Regions from separate parts of the Homo sapiens genome. Here region 2 is linked to region 1. The links are contacts of gene promoters, found by promoter capture Hi-C in human tissues and cell types (Jung and others, 2019). All regions are on one chromosome and are shown on one strand. The core of a region is centred on a gene start or on the middle of the fragment in contact, and the rest is flanking DNA. Distances in the headings are between cores, read along the strand shown. Region 1 holds the start of SFXN5 (sideroflexin 5). Region 2 overlaps SFXN5 (sideroflexin 5).

Region 1 (5,434 bases), core at 1,384-3,883:
CCTGGGGCTGCCCTGCTCACTCTCATTGTCTGGCCTCAGGACTTAGCCATACTAGACCAGTCAGCTTGCCTGGAAGAGGGAGGTCCCACTATGCCTTTGGGAGACACCTATACTTAGGAAAAAGCCTTTGTTGTCCTCCCATCCATCCATTAAGCTGCTATCTCAGCCTGTCCCTTCTGCCCCAGGGGCTTGCCTGGCTTGGCTGCAGTGCACTTTGAAATGAAGTATCTGTCCTTTGGCCCAGCCCCTGGTTTGCTTGTAGAAAACATGGTAGGCTTCCCCAAGGCATCTGCAGGGAACTTTGGCAGCTTGGGGCACCCTGAATTAGCAAAAATGGGGGGTGATGAGGTGCTGAAGAAGGATACTTAACAGCTTAGTGAGGAGGCAAGAGCTCCTCTGGGACCACCACTTCTTCAGGAGAGGGCCTGTGGGCTTGCTTTTGGAAGGCCTCAGGCAGACACGTGCCCTCTGGGTGATGTCTGTCTGCTGCCAGGATGGAGCAGAGGAGCGCCACACATGGAGGAAAGCCCCTGTAACGTTACCTACCTTAAACTCCACTCATCAAATCTGAGAAAAGTATCCACTGGTCCCCAGGGTTTCAGTCATGCTTTTGGGGGTCATTGGGTATTAGAGAAGTAAGTATCTTTTCTGAGAGAGGGGGAGTCACCCCCCCTACTGGGGATTCCTCTGGGCTTTATTCACTCCCAGCCCTGGCCCTGACCTTTGTGGGCCTCCCTAATGCCCAGGGCATGGATGGCTTCAGAGGAGTTTTTGAATCGAAGCCCAGGGTCCTTGTTGATGTTTCTTCTCCTAGCCACACTTGGAGGAAAGTTGCAGGTGGGTTGGGCAGGGAGCAGGCATGGTTCTGCTTTGCTGTTTGTCTTCCTAGTTAAGGCTCTTTATAAAGAGCTTGTTCTTCATGTTTTAAGCACTTTATGAAGAATAAAACATTCATGTACTGCAGGTGGCTCTGTTGTGTTCCTGTTTTGGAATGAACAGTTACAGGAGGCTGCTGTGGGAGAAAGCACCTTAAATCAAGGTGATGGGATTCTTGGATGACACTGTCCCTGCCCCTTATAAGGGGGCAGCAGCACAGTGTTGCCCAGCAGCCTGAACTTAGTCTTTTCTGACTCCCAGGGTACCCACATTTATTGCGCACCTAAGATGGGCCCATTTATTGGTAATACAGAGGGTAAGAAATGGATTCCTATTCTCAAGTTGCATGGTCTAGCAGGGGAAGATAAGATACAAATCCAAGATACAAATAGTTCTTCATGGCTAGATAGAATCTCTAAGATAAGATACAAATCCAAGATACAAATTGTTCTTCGTGGCTAGCTAGAATCTCCCCCTAGCTTTATGAAAAGTGTTTCTTGTGGTTCAACTACTAGAGGATGAAAAACTTTGACTGCTACAGCTCATGTAGTGTCCAGAAACACTGGCAGACATGAGCCAACCCTGCACTCCACCACGAGACTAATGAGACCCAAAGTGGAGTTCCCTAGAAGACCAAATATTTCTACTGTCATCTTGGGCAAAACAGGCAGCTCCCGAAGTCTGGCTCACTGACCAGGTAATTCAGCTGGGAATCTTCAGCTAATCCATTCTACAACTGTATGTGTTTATTATCCATACTGATCCTTACTCCACAATCTGTAATACTCCCCCTTACCTAACACCCTCCCCACCCACCCTAGTCCCAAGTTCTCCTCCTGCCCAGGAATTAGGCCCAGGAGGGATCTTCCTTGGTTGGCCAGACAAGGTGAAAGCTGCCAGGGCTCTTAATCCCCCACTGATGAACTCACAGCCAACACTTATTTGAGTCTCTACTGTGAGCCCTTTTATGTCTGGCTCTGAAAACTGAAGTGAATCAAAAAGTCATAGCCCCTGCCCTGTGAACTTTACAGTAAGAAAGACTGTCCAGAACAGTAAGTAGTTGTGAGTGCAAAAGAGAAGTGCTGGGTGCCACGGAGCCTCTGTGGGATTTTGTGCAAGCAGAGTGATGGACTGGGAAATGCAATGTTTAGGCTAAAGCCAGAAAGCCAGCATCAGGCGAAGATTTAGTCTTCCGGGTACAGAATGTTCAGGGGTCGGGAGGCGGGCAGGCCCCAGCATGCTCCAGGAACTGAGTGTCAGGGCAGCCGGAGAGCACAGGACGAGTGGGCAGGGTGGCGACGGAGGAAAGTACGAGAAGGTCCGCAGTGCAACTCCTTGGAGAAAGCCTTCCGAGGTTAACCCTACTCCGCCTGGAGTCTTTGCCCATCTGGTCCCAGGTTCCCCCTTGAATGGGACCCTTCTGCGCTGCCTGGCCCCAGGAGCGACGCCCACGGCAGCAACTCTAACTTCTGGGGGCAACTAAGCAGCGAGGGGTGGCCCGTGGTCGTCGTACAGGAACACCTTTCCTGGACTGCCGACCTTGCACCTTGCAACGCGGACAGCGGGCACCGAGACCTCTCCGGACGGCCGCAACTCTCCGCAGTCTACGGTTGTAAGCGCCGCGACGCGAAAAACTACACTCCCCACAACGCCTTGCGCCTCCCGCTCGCTGCGGTTGATTAGGGCCAATCGGGAGAGGCAGCTGTGGCGGGGGCCGAGGAGGGACATTTTAAAAGGGCCGGAGATTGCGGGCGTCAGTGGCCATGGCGGATACAGCGACTACAGCATCGGCGGCGGCGGCTAGTGCCGCTAGCGCCTCGAGCGATGCACCTCCTTTCCAACTGGGCAAACCCCGCTTCCAGCAGGTGAGGACCGGGCTGTGGTCTGCGGGCCGGCGGGTGGCAAAGAGAGGACGAGCAAACTCCCCTCCAAAGTCCCCTTCCGCCCAAGGGTCTCCCACCCGCGGCCAGCGGAGCCTGCAGCTAGCGCCAGGGGGGGAACCTCGGTCACAGTCACCCTTTTCCCATTGGTCAACGGGGCGGGCGCGGACTCCCATCTTGGCTTCCTATTGGCCCTTGGCGCCGTCACTCCCCGACTGCCCGCGCCCTCTAGCCTTTCCCGCCCGCGGCGCCCTGTGATTGGCCACCGGCGGCTGCGGTCAAGGTCCCGAGCGCCCGGCTTCGAGCGGCTGCTCAGGGTCGCTCCGGGTTGTGCAGCTGCCCGCCCGGGACGCAAAGTTCTAGTCTGGCCCTGGATGGGAAGTTGGCGTGGCCGGGATGCCTTCTAACTTTTTCCCCCGGTGGGGACTGACGTTCCTTTCGAGCTGCTGGCGGTGCCGCCGGGCAGCGTCGCGCCCCGCGGTCACTCCCCAGCCCTGGCCCCCAAGCCGGGCTCGGCGCGCGCAGCAGGTTGAGGGGGCGAGTGCCGAGGCGAGCGGCGGTCCGGCGTCCCCCGTCCCTGCTCTCCATCTCGGGCTGAGGATTCGCTGACGCAGCAAGCCGGCCGATGCCCTGAGGGGACGCAGCCAGGGCGTGCGGGGGAAACGCTGTGTCATCCCCTGGGGCCGTCGTCCCTCCGAGGGGCTGCCGCCTGGGAACCCCCCCCCAGCCTCTTCCTCGCTGTGTTCTCCGCGGAGGGTCTCCCGCGCCCGGGCCCCCGCGCCGCCGGGGACTGGCTCTGGGCACACCCGCTCAGGCTCTTCGGGGCACGGCGACAGGGGTCCTTTCCCTCCGGGACCTCCTCTGGGGCGTCGCCGACTCGGCCCTAGACTGCGGAGGCGGGGGTGGAACGCGGAGCCCGGGCGCCTGGTTGGGCCCGGAGACCGGAGCCGGGGAGGGGCCGCTCCCGCGCCGCAGACCCTCGGGCTCCCGCGCCTCCCGCACCAATGAGACGGAATTTATTAGGAAACAGGCAGAGAGACCGCTGAAGTGAACCGGGGCTTGCCAGGGGTGGGCGGCAGCCGAGGCGGCCAGAAAAGAACTTTGAAGGAAGAAAGGAAATTGTGCTAAGGTCGGTGCGGTGGCTTTTTTTTTCTTTTTTTGTTGTTGTGGTGGAAGGGGACTGGTTCCAGCAAGGGGGTGCCCCGAGCTTTGCTGATAATTAGGGAACTTGGCTCCTGAGCCGTCTGAAAAAAATGTCCCCAGTGTTTCTTAACAGGACTTTAATTCCTTTTAAAAGTAGGCCATCTCAGCATGTAGGTATCCGAGGCGAGACTGGCATCTTCCTTCCAGTGTAGGAGGCCATCTAGGGCGAGAGTGTCGGGGTGTCCCTGCCTGGACTTGAGTGACCTTATTACATTGCCTGTCCCCGCTCCCACCCCCATTCTGCTCGTTCTTAAAGGCTCAGTCGGGCCTGCCTCTCTGGCAAACACTTGCTCCCTTCTTCTCTGGTCCCATCAGATCGCAGGCTTCCTCCTGCACATCTCTTTGGCCACCTGAGTCAGATCCTCATAGCTCTCCATACAGTCTGCCCTGTGGTCTTCTAAATGTTTGCTGTGTGACGACTTGGTTTCCTCAAACCCCCTGTAGGCCTTTTGCAAGAAGGGGCTGATCTTGCCCTTCTCTGCCTCTGTCTTACCCTGATGGAGACAGGTTAGGCATATAGTAATGTGCCGAGTAAAAGATTTGTGTTTCCTTTTTTTTTTTCTTTTTCTTTTTGTCCTGGTGTCTGTTATCTGTATGTGGCACTAGGGACATTCAGTGACCTAACAGACATTTATCAAATACGTCTTAGTGGCTTATATGACTGAGCCCTGTGCTGTGAGCACTGCTCTAGAGCCATAGATAAACATTTTAGGCTACCCTGTTCCTGCAGCCATAGCGGTACTTCTTTTTGGCACTGCTCTTGAAGGCAGTAAAAGTGTTTGTTGTATGCACTTTTGAAGCTCCCCTCCTCCAGCATAGTGGCCTGCATAAAGCACGTTGCATGTGATTCATCCATGTTAAGGATCTTCTCTTTCCTCCATATCTGCTCCTCCCGCATGGCTCCCTGGCTCTGCAAACAGCCCAACTTGCCACCCAATCAATGCAGCCAGAAACCTGGGAGCCGCCTGTGTTCTTTCCTTCTTCTCCCTCACCCTTTAAATGCAACCAGAGGCCCAGTGATCTTACCTCTTACACAGCTCTCAAGTCCACCCATCTCTACTGCCAGAATCCTAGACCAAGCCCCCATCGTCTATTTCCTGGGTCACTGCAGTAGCCTCACAACAGGTCTCCCTGCTTCCACTCTGGCCCTCTTCCAGTCCTTCCTCTTTCTGCAAGTCAGAGTCCCAACAGTGCAGATCTGATCAAGGGACTCCCTACGCCCTTGTAGATTTAAATACCCTCCAATGGCTTCCCCTGCTTCTGAGATAAAGACCTCACTTCTGAAGGGGCCCCCAAAGTATGCATGGCCCACCCCACTGACTACTTCTTCCTTGAATCCCACCACCCACCCACCCACACTTCGCACCCTCCTTCACATCACACTGGCTGCTTTTCAGCCTCTGAACCCACCACGTTCCCTCCCACCACTGGGCCATCTGCTTGGAACATCACCTCTTCCTCTACCCCCAACTCTT
Region 2 (4,803 bases), core at 1,926-4,425, 92 kb after region 1:
TGTGCTCAGTCCACCCTGCTTCCTCCGTCTAGGAGTGGCCATGGCAGTGCTGCCCAAGTCTGGAGGGCCTACCCCCAGGTCAGAGCACAGCTCCCCAGGCCTCATCCCCTGTGAGCAGGAGGCAGCAGTGTGCACCTGTGGCAGCTTGTCCTGGGCCCTGTGACATCAAGGTCCATCCATCAAGGTCAGTGGTGCTTCACGTGGCATTCATGCCCTTCAGGCACCTCTGGATGCCATGAGTCCCTTCTTTGACCTGGCCTGCTCTTGCCTCTCCTGTGCCCCACTGCAGCCCTGGAGAACGCTGCCGTCCTCCTCTCCTCCCTCTTGCCGGGCCCCAGGCCTTTGCATGTGGCCCTGATGTCTGGATACCTGCTCTTCCCACTACCTCAAGCACCCTCTGCCCTCCCTCGACTACCAGGCCTTTGTGACTCTGCTCAAACACCATCTCCTCTTGGAAGCCCTCGCTGGGAGTCCCAGCCAGGGTTAGATGGCAGCTACCTGTGTGTGCCGATGTCTATCTGGGGACTGCCCGTGTTGTTTCCAAGCCTGCCTCCCCCATTAGACATTGAGTGCCCCAAGGCAGGGACTGGATCTCATCTACCACCACACTCAGCCCCCTCGGTGCCTGGCACACAGTCAGTGCTCAATGTGGGTTTATTCAATGATCAAATGAGTGCTTTGGCACAAAAGGTTTGAGATGAGTCACTCGTGGCAGAACCTCACCCTGATGACAGTGGTGGCCAGATTCTGTAGCTACCTGGACATTTATTCTGGACCTTTTCCACTTTTTAAAGTTGTTTTGGAGTGCTCTGTTTTCTTGTTTACATTTTTACCATCACTGTGGTCCACTCTTAGTCAGCAGGCCTAGGGTGGATGACCAATGGGCCCACCCCTTTCCAGATCATCCTGGGCACATTATCCAACCCTTCCAGGCCATTATGGCCCCGTCTATAAAATGGATACTAGTATCTCTAAGCAAAGTTTTCATGGGGATTGAACATGTCAATTTCCCAGCGTAGCATGAGCACCTACTAAATGTTGATCCTCTTCCAGCTCCACTCTGTTCCTCCTGCCCCAATCAGGGGTGGCACATTCCTGCCATCAGGGAACTTGTTCTTTGGGGGTAAGAGGTGGTTAGATGTTCAAAATGGCACGCACACACACACACACACACACACACACACACAAAGTTCCAGTGATAAGGGCAATAAAGTTTTATAGAGGATGAAACCCATTCGATAATCTCTCTAAATCACCTTCCATCACCTCTACGATTTTAGGAATCTAATATGAACTGAATTATGTACGGAAATGGTGTTTGTTGAGAAAAGGGCGGGGATAATTAGATCATGTTATCAAAGGAATATGTGGGCGTGGTGCTGTGGATTTTGAGGAGCCATGGAAGGTTGGGCTGGGCTGGGTGCCAGAATTGGTGGCAGCCTCAGAACTGGCATGGGCCCCTGCTGTGTGTCAGGCCCCAAGAGGACACAGGCAGTGGGTCCAAGGCAGCCAGAGGAAAGTGTCTAGTGTCCCAGGGCTCTGTCTTCAGTTTCATTCCCTTCAGTTATTTTGATGCCTTGGATGGAGGAGGCCTGTGGCTCATATTCAAAAAACAGGGACACCAACCTGGCAGGGATTGTGAATTCATGGGCAAGAGCACCAGGATCTAAAAAGATCCATCGAGGTGGGCCGATGAGATCTCACAAGGTTTGATGTAAGCCTTGCTGTTCAAAAAATGTAGGTGCACAAGTGTGAGGGTGTCAAGACCTGACTTGGCTGAAGTTCTCAAGACAGAGACCCGGGGGTCTCGTGTGCCGTGTGCTCAGAATGGGTCCCTGGTGTGGTGTGTGCCTCTGATGATGCTCACTCAGATTTCAGCTGCATTACTAAAGATAGAACACCAAGAACAAAGGAGTCTGTTTAATTCTGGCTGTACACGTCAAGAGTAGCTCTGATAAGTGGTAACGCCATAAGAGTGACAGGATCTTCTGAAAAAAATGAGAGCCTGTTATTGGAATGAGCTGCCTGACTCCTGGATTTGAGGGAAATGTCTGATTAGTAGACAGGCCCCAGAAGCTGTGAGGGGCACTCGCACGCGACCAAGGCACCTGTTTCCAAGCAGCTTGCTCAGGATCTGGCATACCGTAGGTGCTCCATAAGTGCTTGTTGCGTAAATGGCCTTCCAGTTCTGGGGTTTTATAATTCCTGAAATCCAGAAGGTAGAGAAGCCCAGAGGCAGAGAAAGTGGGGAGGTGTAATGCAGAGGGAGGGAGGGGCTATGCAGGAGGGGAATGCAGGAGGGGGCAGGGGGCCTGGCTGGGCTGGCCTGGCCTGCTGGGGAACAGAGGAGGGCATGTTGTCGCTATGAGTGTTAGCTTGGGGTTTGAGCTTTATCTTTGGTTGATGAGGAACCATTGAAGAATCTCAAGCTAAGAGGCAGCTGTGATAAAAAGGGGCTTTTTAAAAAGATGGATGTGTTAGCAGGAATCACATTAAGAGATTCCAAACTTCCGAGTCAGCCTACACCTAGACTTACAGGCTGATTTTTCAATCCAGAAATTCCCGATCCTGAGTCGGTGACACTTCAATATGGGTTGTGAAACTCTCCCCAAATTCTCAAGCTACTTAAGAGAAAATTTGTGCTGCTTACTTAGCACTGCCTCTCAGGTGGAATAATGGGGATTTTTGTGAAATCAAGCAAATATGAGGGCATGCATCCTTATTTGATAATCATCACTGTCTTAAAGGCAGAGGGGTTGTATTCTGCTGTGATTCGAGTGTGAGAGAGAGAGTATGTGTGAGTGTGTAAAGGTGGTAATATGCCTACATGTATATACATAGACCTTCCCGGGCAGGGACATGAGAACCTGGCTATAGTGGTTGCCTCTGGGGAGGGGGTAAAGTTTAGGGTTGGGAAGGAGACTTACTTTTTATTATTTCCCCTTTTACACCATTTGAATCATTGACTGTGTTGCCCACAACGGTGGAAGGAAGGAAGAGAGGGAGGGAGGAGAGAAGAGAGAAGAGGGGAGGGGAGGCCAGCATTACCTCCCACTTCTTGCAGAAGAGGAAGTGGAATATGGAAGTACTTAGTCCAACATCAGTCTTGAGCCAGAATAGCAGCTGAAGTCTCATGCTTGCTACTAGAGTGCTTGTTTGTTCGTTTTAATGAAAATGGCTCTATTTCTTTCTGATAATACATAATAGAATAAGCAATCCTACTTCTCTCTCCCGAGTCATTTAGTATATATCCCTCCAAATTCAAGTTAACATCTAAAAGTATATGAATCTCTGCCTATTATATCTATATGTAGTGTATAAATATGTCTATATAAATGTAACTTAATACAAATGGGTTCATATATAGATATATATATACTATTCTGTAAACTGCTTTTTAACCTCACAGTCAATTTTAGATGTCTTTCCATGGCAGTCATAAAATTGTAACTTCTCCTTAATAGCCACAGTAGTTTGTTCCATGGCTATTTTTAAATGATTTCTTTATTTATTTATTTATAGACGGAGTCTTGCTCTGTCACCCAGGCTGGAGTGCAGTGGCATGATCTCGGCTCACTGCAACCTCCGCCTCCTGGGTTCAAGCAATTCTTCTGTCTTGGCCTCCCAAGTAGCTGGGATTACAGGTGCATGCCACCATGCCTGGCTAATTTTTGTGTTTTTAGTAGAGACAGGGTTTCGCCATGTTGACCAGGCTGGTCTTGAACTCCTGACCTCAGGTGATCCACCCGCCTTGGCCTCTCAAAGTGCTGGGATTACAGGCATGAGCCACTGCACTCGGCCTGTTTTTTTAATTATGAAATTTTTCTATTAACATAGAAAATTGAAGAAATAGAGAAAGAGAACGTTAGATACACTCAAAGCCCTCTGCCTTCTTGATTCTGGTTTCTTTCTCTCCCCACAGAAGGCACCGACCTGGAGTTAGTGTATGCTTACCATTTAGGTTTTATATTTTAGCATATGTGCATGTACCATAAGCCATCAATTGTATTGTTCATGAATTTTTCAAAATTTATATTAACTGTACCATACTGTACATATCCTTTTGAAACTTGCCTTTCATTGTGGTTTTGAAATTTATTTATGTTAATACATATACATTCATTTCAGCTGCCATAGGCATTCGTACTGTGTGGCTATCCACAGGTGATTAATTGGGGACATTTAGGTTGTTTTCAGTCTCTCATTATTATACAGTCCTGCTCTAAACAACCTTGTGCTCTAAACAGCTCATGTGCACATGAGTAAGAGTTTCTCCTGGGCAAAAGTTTTCAAACCTTCATCTGTATTATAATCACCTGGGGAATTTAAAAAAAAAACAGATCTGGGCCCTACCTCAGCTTTGGTTTCACTTGTGCTGGGAATCGCCAGGCTAGCGTGTGTACCCAGACATGGAATGGACACATTAGAGGGTACATACGTTTCTAGCTTTATTAAATATTGCCAGGTGGGCATACGGGCATTTACCCAACCTGCAGGGTCTGAATTTTTGTTTCCCTACATCCTCTTCAATATTTGATATTATCAATCTCTTAAAATTTTTGTTCATCTGGGCCGGGCGTGGTGGCTCACACCTGTAATCCCAGCACTTTGAGAGGCTGAGGCGAGTGGATCACCTGAGGTCAGGAGTTCAAGACCAGCTTAGCCAACATGGTGAAAACCCATCTCTACTAAAAATACAAAAATTAGCTGGGCATGGTGGTGGGCGCCTGTAATTGCAGCTACTTGGGAGGCTGAGGCAGGAGAATCGCTTGAACCCGGGAGGCAGAGGTTGCAGTGAGCCGA

The links. Contacts are between HindIII fragments. The study calls those that stand out against the background at their distance.
Region 2: a fragment that was not itself captured here is called in contact with the fragment with the promoter of SFXN5 in region 1 in 2 of the 25 tissues and cell types used here (liver and spleen).

Annotation. Positions count from the first base shown.
Region 1 is chr2:73,068,911-73,074,344 of GRCh38, reverse strand. It overlaps SFXN5 (sideroflexin 5), which reads left to right and starts at 2,633. Exons shown (of 14, transcript NM_144579.3): 1 at 2,633-2,741. The coding sequence starts at 2,640. It overlaps RAB11FIP5 (RAB11 family interacting protein 5), which reads left to right. Exons shown (of 6, transcript NM_001371272.1): 6 at 1-963. RefSeq lists enhancers at 2,035-2,514, 2,715-2,764 and a silencer at 2,905-3,694. The HindIII fragment of the contact is 18,440 bases long and covers 1-5,434 here.
Region 2 is chr2:72,978,350-72,983,152 of GRCh38, reverse strand. All of the region lies in intron 10 of SFXN5 (sideroflexin 5), which reads left to right. Among named protein-coding and RNA genes, the nearest start is that of EMX1, 63 kb to the right of the region's middle. RefSeq lists an enhancer at 164-664. The HindIII fragment of the contact is 9,466 bases long and covers 1-4,803 here.